Linked DNA regions of Homo sapiens: all the other regions are linked to region 2. The links are contacts of gene promoters, found by promoter capture Hi-C in blood cells and fetal thymus (Javierre and others, 2016). All regions are on one chromosome and are shown on one strand. The core of a region is centred on a gene start or on the middle of the fragment in contact, and the rest is flanking DNA. Distances in the headings are between cores, read along the strand shown. Region 1 overlaps PDCD1LG2 (programmed cell death 1 ligand 2). Region 2 holds the start of AK3 (adenylate kinase 3). Region 3 overlaps INCR1 (interferon stimulated noncoding RNA 1).

What was found. The method cuts DNA at HindIII sites, captures the fragments that hold promoters and counts their contacts. A CHiCAGO score of 5 or more calls a contact.
Region 1: a fragment that was not itself captured here is called in contact with the fragment with the promoter of AK3 in region 2 in 1 of 17 cell types (neutrophils); the score reaches 5.1 in neutrophils.
Region 3: a contact is called between a fragment that was not itself captured here and the fragment with the promoter of AK3 in region 2, in 1 of 17 cell types (neutrophils). The highest score is 5.3, in neutrophils.

Annotation. Positions count from the first base shown.
Region 1 is chr9:5,557,340-5,560,395 of GRCh38, forward strand. PDCD1LG2 (programmed cell death 1 ligand 2) reads left to right here. Exons shown (of 7, transcript NM_025239.4): 5 at 279-413. All of the region lies in intron 1 of INCR1 (interferon stimulated noncoding RNA 1), which reads right to left. Among named protein-coding and RNA genes, the nearest start is that of PDCD1LG2, 48 kb to the left of the region's middle. The HindIII fragment of the contact is 2,654 bases long and covers 31-2,684 here.
Region 2 is chr9:4,739,952-4,742,451 of GRCh38, forward strand. AK3 (adenylate kinase 3) reads right to left here and starts at 1,251. Exons shown (of 5, transcript NM_016282.4): 1 at 986-1,251. The coding sequence starts at 1,136. RefSeq lists silencers at 781-920, 1,151-1,640. The HindIII fragment of the contact is 10,519 bases long and covers 1-2,133 here.
Region 3 is chr9:5,577,117-5,580,240 of GRCh38, forward strand. The region is part of intron 1 of INCR1 (interferon stimulated noncoding RNA 1); the gene reads right to left. Among named protein-coding and RNA genes, the nearest start is that of RIC1, 50 kb to the right of the region's middle. The HindIII fragment of the contact is 7,807 bases long and covers 1-3,124 here.

The DNA of each region.
Region 1 (3,056 bases), core at 108-2,607, 820 kb after region 2:
GCTGGGTCACTTACTATGTAACTTAGGGAAAGCTTCCTAGTCTCTCTGTGCCTCCCTTTCTTCACCAGTGAAATGGGGATCATAGCAGAGCCAACTTCACAGAGTGGTTGCGAGGAGTGGATGAGCTGATAGGTGCAGAGCACTTAGAATAGGGCCTGGTGTGGAGTAAATGCTCCACAGAGCTAGCCGTGTTGGCTGTCACCCACTCATGTGGCCAGCCTGTTGGTCTACCTCTTAGTTGCCATGTAACAGGATTCTGGTGCTTTTCCTTTGCCCAGGTCAGATGGAACCCAGGACCCATCCAACTTGGCTGCTTCACATTTTCATCCCCTTCTGCATCATTGCTTTCATTTTCATAGCCACAGTGATAGCCCTAAGAAAACAACTCTGTCAAAAGCTGTATTCTTCAAAAGGTAAGTGAGTTTTATTCATGGTAACCCAATGCACTGGGTGTCTGCAGCATGAGCCACTGCTTTGCACTGCAGGCCTATGGCTTGCTGCTTTCATGCTAAACCCACTCAGAGCTTATGAACCACTTTGAGCTTGTCTTGATGATTATTTTTCCCCAGAAGAAAATGGCTCTCATCGTCAGTGAGCTGAACTTCTTACACTGAGTTTTTTAAAGGGAATGTTTTGTTCTTATGTCTGAAAGAGTTTGTCTTATTCTTTGAGCCAAGAGCTTTCATCAGCCTCATGAGAGTGATGTTATTTTGGCAATGCAGAGAGCTACGTGCTCCGATTTTGCTGGTGGGAGGTTGCCAGGATCCTTTCTGAGGATTCCTTCCATTTTCACCCCTCTTTTCCCCAGTCTGGATATGACCTGGGTTAAACCCACCCCCTCTCCCAGGAATCTCAACCTCACGGTTGGGTAAGGAAAGGAGAAAGGTTTGTGAGGCCATTTGGGGATAAGGAAACAGCTGGTTGGTGGTGCATTAACGTCTTTCAGCAGCTCCCTTCGAGTTTCTCCTTAGCCTGTTGTATTCTTACCAACACACTCCTGTTCTGTTGTACCAGCTGGGACAGAGCATGCTGAAGCCTTTCAGCCCTGATTTCATTGCTTCATTGTTCATGTGTCTGTCTTTGGTTTCCTGGGTGGAGCCTGCCCACAAAACCCCCAGAATGTATGCAGGCCTAGCTGGTGCTTTCCTAAACGGCTCCCTTGTCTGCACTCAATGAACTTCTCCAAAGATCTATACATGGCCTCATCTATAGAAAGAGAAATGACATGTGGAAATAATTCAGTAGGAGTTTGCAGCAGCACTATCTGAGGACTAGGGGAATTTTAAGTGGTTGTTATCTTACATTTATACTCATAACTTCTATATTTTCATCTGCCATAAAATATTGTCATGTTCTATTTGTCCATTGCCCTATGTGTGTATGTATTCACTTGGGTGCTGACCACAATATTTCTAACTGTAGAATGCAAGGAATTGTTGCCAAAAGAAAAAGACAGAGGGAGGGAAGAAGATGGCCAGGGGAGTGAGGGAGAAAGAGAAAACAGGAGATGGAGAAGAAGAAAGATAGAAAGAAAAATAAATGTGGGAGGGAAGGGAGCTTCATGGTAAAGGAGGAGGTATGTCCAACAGAACTTCGACTTTTAAATAGAACCACTTCAGAGAGTTGTGTCAGGTGCACCTCAGTTGTCTTATCTTCTGCCATTCTTCTTTTACCTCTCACACCCATACCTCAGGGTTCAAGGCCTGGGGCCTGAGGACTCCTTAATAACTTCAGAAATGAGCAGCTGAGTGTTCCGTTCCAGCTGTCTTTGGGAGAATGGAATGGAGTCACACTCAAAGATAGAGTGGAAATAAATCCTCTCCTCATCCTTCACCCCAATCTTAAGAGTGAGTGAGGATATCAGTAGCTCCGAGCTGGGAGGTAAAGCTCAAGTTCTAACTGTGATTAGGAGACCTTTCTTACAAATAAGAATTAAGTGAATAAATGTGCAAACAATTTCTTTTATATTTTTAATGAACCAGAGAGAAATCATGGTTGCCTATATAACCCTTGTCTCCAACTCACTTGCATTCAGATCTGCTTTCTTACATGTGTCTGCCATGCACACAAACTTGTGTGCCATGGAAAAGGGTTGAGAACTGCTGGTGATGCAGACAGAGCTTTAAACCAGGGTCAGAGGGCTAGGCTGGGACCTTGTGCTGCCATTTGTTGGCTTTCTGACCTTGTACAAATTGCCTATCTTCTTTGAGATGGTCTTTCTATCTGTAAAAGGGGAAGCAGCAAGAGAAGGAACATTTTACAGCTTATTGGCCGAACTTCACTGCCGCTAGTGTGGTTCAACTTGGACTACAGAGAAATCTTCCTAACTGGTTTCCCTGTATTCACTCCTGCTACCTCCAACTTGGTCTGTTCTCACTTTTTGCTATAATAGGCTTTTAAAAATCATAAATCTACCATGTGTCCTCTGTCCAGACCTTCTCCATGGCTTCTTATTGCTCACTGGATGAAGTTCCAACGAGCCCAGGATGGTTTGACTCATGTCTCCAGCTTTAACTGCATCACCATCACCTTCATTGTCTAAAGCTCTAACCACACAGGATTTTCTAGTCCTCAGAGGCATGGCAGTCTTTCAATTCCGAGTTTTCTCATACAATATTGTCTCTTCTTAAAATATTTTTTCTTGTTGTCCACCTGAGTTGGAGTCATCTTTTAAATCTCAGCTAAGCTTATACTTCATCAAGTCTTTCCTAATTCTACCTCCACGCACCACACCCATTACATTAAATCCCCTTATTATATGTTTCCATAGCACCTACTTCTTCTTTCAGTATACTCAGCACACAATCACATGTCTAGGATCTGTTTTAATAGCTTGGACTACCAATTAAATTGCATCCCTTTTAATTTTCCAATTGATTCCTCAAGTACCCACATGCCCATCTTAGCAAGAAGTTCAGTGTCTCCCTCTTATAGCATGTACTTCTCCACCTCCCACAAACTGCCAGAAAGCTTACTTAGCCCACAGGGCCAGTGCTAGGCAGCTAGGTTAGTCCTCCAGAGGGCCCTGGTTTTGAGCAGTTGCTGTCTACTCCGGC
Region 2 (2,500 bases), core at 1-2,500:
TTTCTAGAAGGAAAACTCTGTTCCCCTCCGAAGAATGGGACTGAGGTAGGGAACGAAAGAGGGCGTTGTTTTTTATGCTATGCACGTCTATCCTGTTTGCTATCCTTACAAAAAAAAAAAAAAAAAGAAGGAAAACAAAAGAAAAAGGCCTTGTGGAAGCATTATTTCTATGTAAATGGGTTTCAAAATGAGTTTCAAAACGGGTTCTATTTTGAAAAGTAAGGTCAACATTTTTTGAGAAAAAAACTCCTGCGATTGGCTTTTCAAAAACAACCCTCTTAAGAGAGAATTTACATACCACAAATTCACCCATTGTATAGTGTAGATTGTTAACTGCCTTTCGTGCCGAGCTGTAAGAATTTATTTGGCATGAGAAACAAAATATTTTATAGAACCATGCACAAGAATAGCCTTCGTGTCTACGAAATCTAAGGATATCAAAATGAGATAATTTTATGACTGCAACAAGGGTAAATAATACTTGGCCTTGGGAATATGGGGGAAAGGTCAGAACTACAAGATCTCATAGAGCTTAACCACACCAAAAAAGAAAGAGAAAAGAAAGAAACAAAGAAAACAAAACAGAACGAGCAGACTCTAGCAGGGCTAATGACAGTCTTCCAAAGGCACCAGCACGTTGAACAAGCTGCGGCTCAGCTCGATGGACCCCCAAGAGTGGCTGCCACTGGGAGGACTTGGGCCTCTGAAACAAAGCCCGGTGGTTTCCTTTCATCTCTGAACTTCGAGCTCGACCTAACTTTCCAGTCCCTTCCCCCACCGCCACCCCATAACCCGCCCGAAGCGGCCCACGGAGGCCGGAGGTTTTGGGGCGCAGTCGCTCAGCAGCCCGAGGTCTCTGTCCCGGGCGGCGGGAGGGAAATGCCGCGCCCGCAGCCAGGGACCCGCGTGCCCAGCTTCGGCCCCTCGCCCGCGAAGTCCGACCCGGGTGACAGCGCACGGCCGGCCCTGGGCCCAGAGCTCCCACCTGTGCCCCGCAGCATGTTGTCCCGGAGCAGGTCCCCGCTGGAGAGGTGCTTCAGCTCGAAGTGTGTAGTGATGCGCGACGACACGGTGCCCTTGCCCGAGCCCGGGGCCCCCATGATCACCGCTCGCAGCAGCCGCGCGGACGCCCCCATGGCCGCAGACTGAGGCCCGCACCGCGCGGGTACCAGGGCTTTGGCCTGGCCTGCGCGCTCACCCGCTCGGCAGCCTGCGCCGGCCGGCTAGCAGCGCCACTAGCAGGCGGCTACTGCGGTTCCCCGGCGTTCCCGGAAGTGAGCCGACAGCCCCTGGGGCCGCCCAGACAGCGCGGGACCCCGCTGTTGCGTCCGCCTCTCGGCTACCCCGGCGCACCCCCCGCCCCCGACCGAGCGCCTGTTCCCGCCCAGCCGCGCAAGCCGCGCAAGCCGCGCCCCCTCTGCGCTCGCTCGGCCGCCCAGCTCCCACCTGCGCCTCTCCGCGGCCCCTCTCCACCGGCCGCTGGGCCCGGATCCCTTCGGCGCCCCTCTGCACCCACCCCCACGCGCCCTCCACTCGGCTCAGATCTACCTCCGCGCCTCTCCGCGACCCCGGAACCCCGCGCCCTGTCCGGCCCATTCCCAGCCGGATAGACCGCGCTCCCCTCTGTCCGACCTTGGCAACTCCTGCGCGCCCCCTCCCCACCTCTAGTCGCCCCTCGGAGCCGCTTGGTTTCGGGATCCACCCGCATCCACCCCTCCAACAACCCTTTCGTAGCCCTCGCCCCTAGTCCATAGCAGGCGCTGCCCTACCCAGTCCTTGCCGGACACACCGCGACCCCTTTCGTGCTCCCTTGACAACCCTGGCCCCACCTCCACCTGGCGCCCACTCGAATCCGCCCCTCCCTTCTACCCCCCTGGACCGCCAGACCCCCCGCTTCTGCACCCACTCCCGCCTTCGCCCTTCCCTCCTTCCTCCTCCTCCTCTGCTGCCGAGCGCCCTCTCTTCCCACTCCCTCTCTGTGTAGAATCACAGGGAGTGACCTTGAGCCGAGAGGGCCTACCTCATTTTACAGGAGAGGAAATCCAGCTTCCATTGAGTGAGACTCTTTTATAAATAACGTAAAAGAGTGTGTGAAACTGTGGAGGCAGGCTGTTGTAGATAGGCGGTCGGAAAAGCTTTGAAGAGATGGCATGTGTGCTGAGTGCTTAATTAGAATATGGAAGAGAGAGACATGGGCCCTTCCTATGTCCAGTTTTAGGAAAAGGCCCTAAAACTGGAGGTTTGGCATGTTTCAAGAATGGAAACAGAGGACAAAAACGTTCGAGTGAGTATCATTTTGCCTGTAAAATGGGCATAGAGGAGTAGAATGGAGGAGTTAAAATAATGTAGTACTTAGTGCAATGCCAGCTACGGGGTCAATGTTCAATAATGGTTGTCCATTTATCATCATTGCTTTGTCCCGGACACTATGCTAAGGCAGAAAGAAGGCTCTCTGAAAATAAAACACAGTTACCATTCTCCTCAGAGGTCCAGAACTGAT
Region 3 (3,124 bases), core at 445-2,944, 840 kb after region 2:
CTGGCAACTCAACACCATTAAATGTAACCTACCAGTGAGTCCAAATTTCAGCCAATCAACTAAGCAAATAGTGCCATTCACAGCTGCTCTAGCTAATACATTTGTTTCAGCTAGCTTTTGTTGTATAACAAACTATCCAAAACTTAGTGACTTAAAACAACTGTTTATGTTTTTATGATTTTATAGGATAACAATTTGGGCTGGGCTCAGTGGAGGCAACTCATTTGTGCTCTACGTGGTGTCAGTGGGATCATTCATGCATTTGCAGTCAGTTGGCAGTTTGGCTGCCAGATGGCTGGTCTCAGATGGCTTCATTCATATCTTCCTATTGGTGCTGGCTGTTGGTAAAACCACGTATCTTCAGTAGGTTAGTCCAGGCATCTTCAACATAGAGTCTAATCCAAAAACAGCAAAAAAGAAAGAAAACCCCAATGTGCAAGTGCTTTCCAAGTCTCTGTTTGTATCACATTTGCTAATAATGTTCCATTATCCAAAGCAAGCACATAACCATGCCAAAAATCAATGTGTAAAGGAATTACATGAAGGCGTGATACCACTACTGTAATCATCTACAACATTAAGTCCAAAACTATCTGGAAAGTGTAGTATATCAGGACTACCTTAATTTGGCCCCAGTTCAATGTTATCTTCTGTGCTCCTGGGTCTAATACCTTTAGAATTCATCCCCATACATACTAGCCTGGTTTCCTCTAATGTTAAGTTAACAAAATCTTATGATTCTTTTGAAGTATAAGACTTTTCCTGCTGAGCTAGACTCTGCTCTTCCCACCTCCGTATATTCCGGGAACTGACTCTAAATAAAGGCCATGAGAGTTGGGAGCACTGGGGCTGAGAAAGAATAGGGATCTCCCTTGCAAGGCAAGTGCCTCATATGGGCTTATTACAGGCTTTCAAACAAGGAAAGGCTAATATCATTAGACAAGAAATGAGAGGCTTCTTCCACTATCAAGGGAAACTCAGGGATGCTTGGGGGTTTCAACATTCTCAGTTTCATCCAAATCCACCAAAATGTCCCCATTCCTAGTCTCAGAGTCCTACTCCTTTCAAATTACTGAGAAAACTTTCACATATGAGACTTAGCCAGTCTGTGAATGATTGATTTGGGTTGAATTTTTCAGTCATGTCTTTCATGTCTAGTGATTCCTGTAATTAGAAGGAATAAGAGGTACTTTCAGGGCAGTCTTAGAAGCCCTCTGGTGCTCTGAATATGATTTGAGGTGAAAGCCCTAAACTTGTTAGTTTCTTCCTGTAAGCACCCTGGTGCAATCAGAAGCAGCCATCCCACATTACATTCCTTATAATCATCTTTACTACCATAATGGTTAAATGCAACAGCTACTTGGCCTCCAGAAACTTGCCTTTCATTGGTATTCAACCCTAGCAAGAACAGATGATAATTTAATCAACCATGATGTCAATGCATGCCATAGATTACTAGTGGCAAAGAGTTCAGCTCTCAATTCAAACCAATCCAACACTAACAACAAATCAAATCAATCCCAGAATGTCAGAATTTGAGAATCTGTTTCCTATGACCACACCTAGTATCAAGTGCTAGTATCAGCCAGAGTCCAGTCATAAAAATAGAGTGTATTTAATATTAGGAACTTGTAATAAAGATATAAGAAGACTGAAAGAGCAAAAAAGTGGATGCCAAATATTAGAACTACAGACAGCAGCTACCTTTCTACTACCTATTGCTACAGGCATGACACATTCAGGAACTAGAAACAGGAAATAATTCCCCCTCCCACCTTCCAGTCCCCAAGGCCTTCCCATTTACTGAACTTAACAGGAAGCTAGCTGGCAAGGGAGGCTGGCAAATGAAGTTTGTCAAAATTCCAGCCCTGGCACATCAGAGCAGAGGAGAGGAGGATGGACTTAGAGTTGAGAACAGGAGGTACATAACCAACTCACTCCTCAATCAAAATCTATCTGGATGAAGTGGAGACATATCCATTAAGAGATAAAAAATAAAGAGACTATAAATTCCAATTAGATTGTAGCACAAGGAATTGTCTTAAACTCTGTGGCATCTGACCCTGTAACAAGGGCCCAATGTATATTTGTTGATTGGTTTTATGAGAAAAATAAAAATTGGGCATCTGCTTTGACCATGAGCATAGGACAAAATAAACTTATTTATTTATTTATTTATTTATTTATTTATTTATTTATTTATTTATTTTTGAGACGGAGTCTCACTCTGTCGCCCAGGCTGGAGTGCAGTGGCAAGATCTCGGCTCACTACTAGCTCCGCCTCCCAGGTTCATGCCATTCTCCCGCCTCAGCCTCCCAAGTAGCTAGGACTACAGGTGTGCGCCGCCATGCCCGGCTAATTTTTTGTATTTTTAGTAGAGACGGGGTTTCACCGTGTTAGCCAGGATGGTCTCAATCTCCTGACCTCGTGATCTGCCCACCTCAGCCTCCCAAAGTGCTGGGATTACAGGCGTGAGCCACCGCACCCGGGCCTTTAAGTACATTTTGTAGAAGTTGTATCAAAATTCATTGGCTGCAAATGAGAGAAAACCTGATGCAAACTGGCTTAAATTTTTAAAAGATAATGTGTTGGCTTATGTAACTGAGCAGCCAAATGTGCAACTGGGTATAGGGGGTCTAACAAATGTCTTCAGGATTCAAATTGTCTCTATCATTTCTTCACTCTGTTTCCTTTTTGTTGATGCCATTCTCAGACAAGATATCTCCTCATAATTACAAGATGGATGCCAATGATTATTAAACCTTTCAGATTCAAATATTTTACAAGAAAAAAAAGCCAGAGTATTTTTCTCAGCATTCTCAGCAAAATCCTGAGATTTACAGTGGAAAACTTATGTGCTGTGCCCTCTCCAGAACCAGTCACTGAAAGAAAGAGTATGTAAGTGATATCTTACATCTGGAGCTCCACCCAGACCACATGAACTGAAAGTGGAGAGTGAATCAAAGTGACATCTTTTGTGCTAAGATGTTGCAATTGCCCAAATGCATCTGTGGACTTCTACTAGAAGGTATAGCAGAAGGTGTTAGGTGTCTATTATAAGAAAAATATCACTATCATATAACACCCCTGGGGGACATATTTCTAAATTTCAGACAAAATATA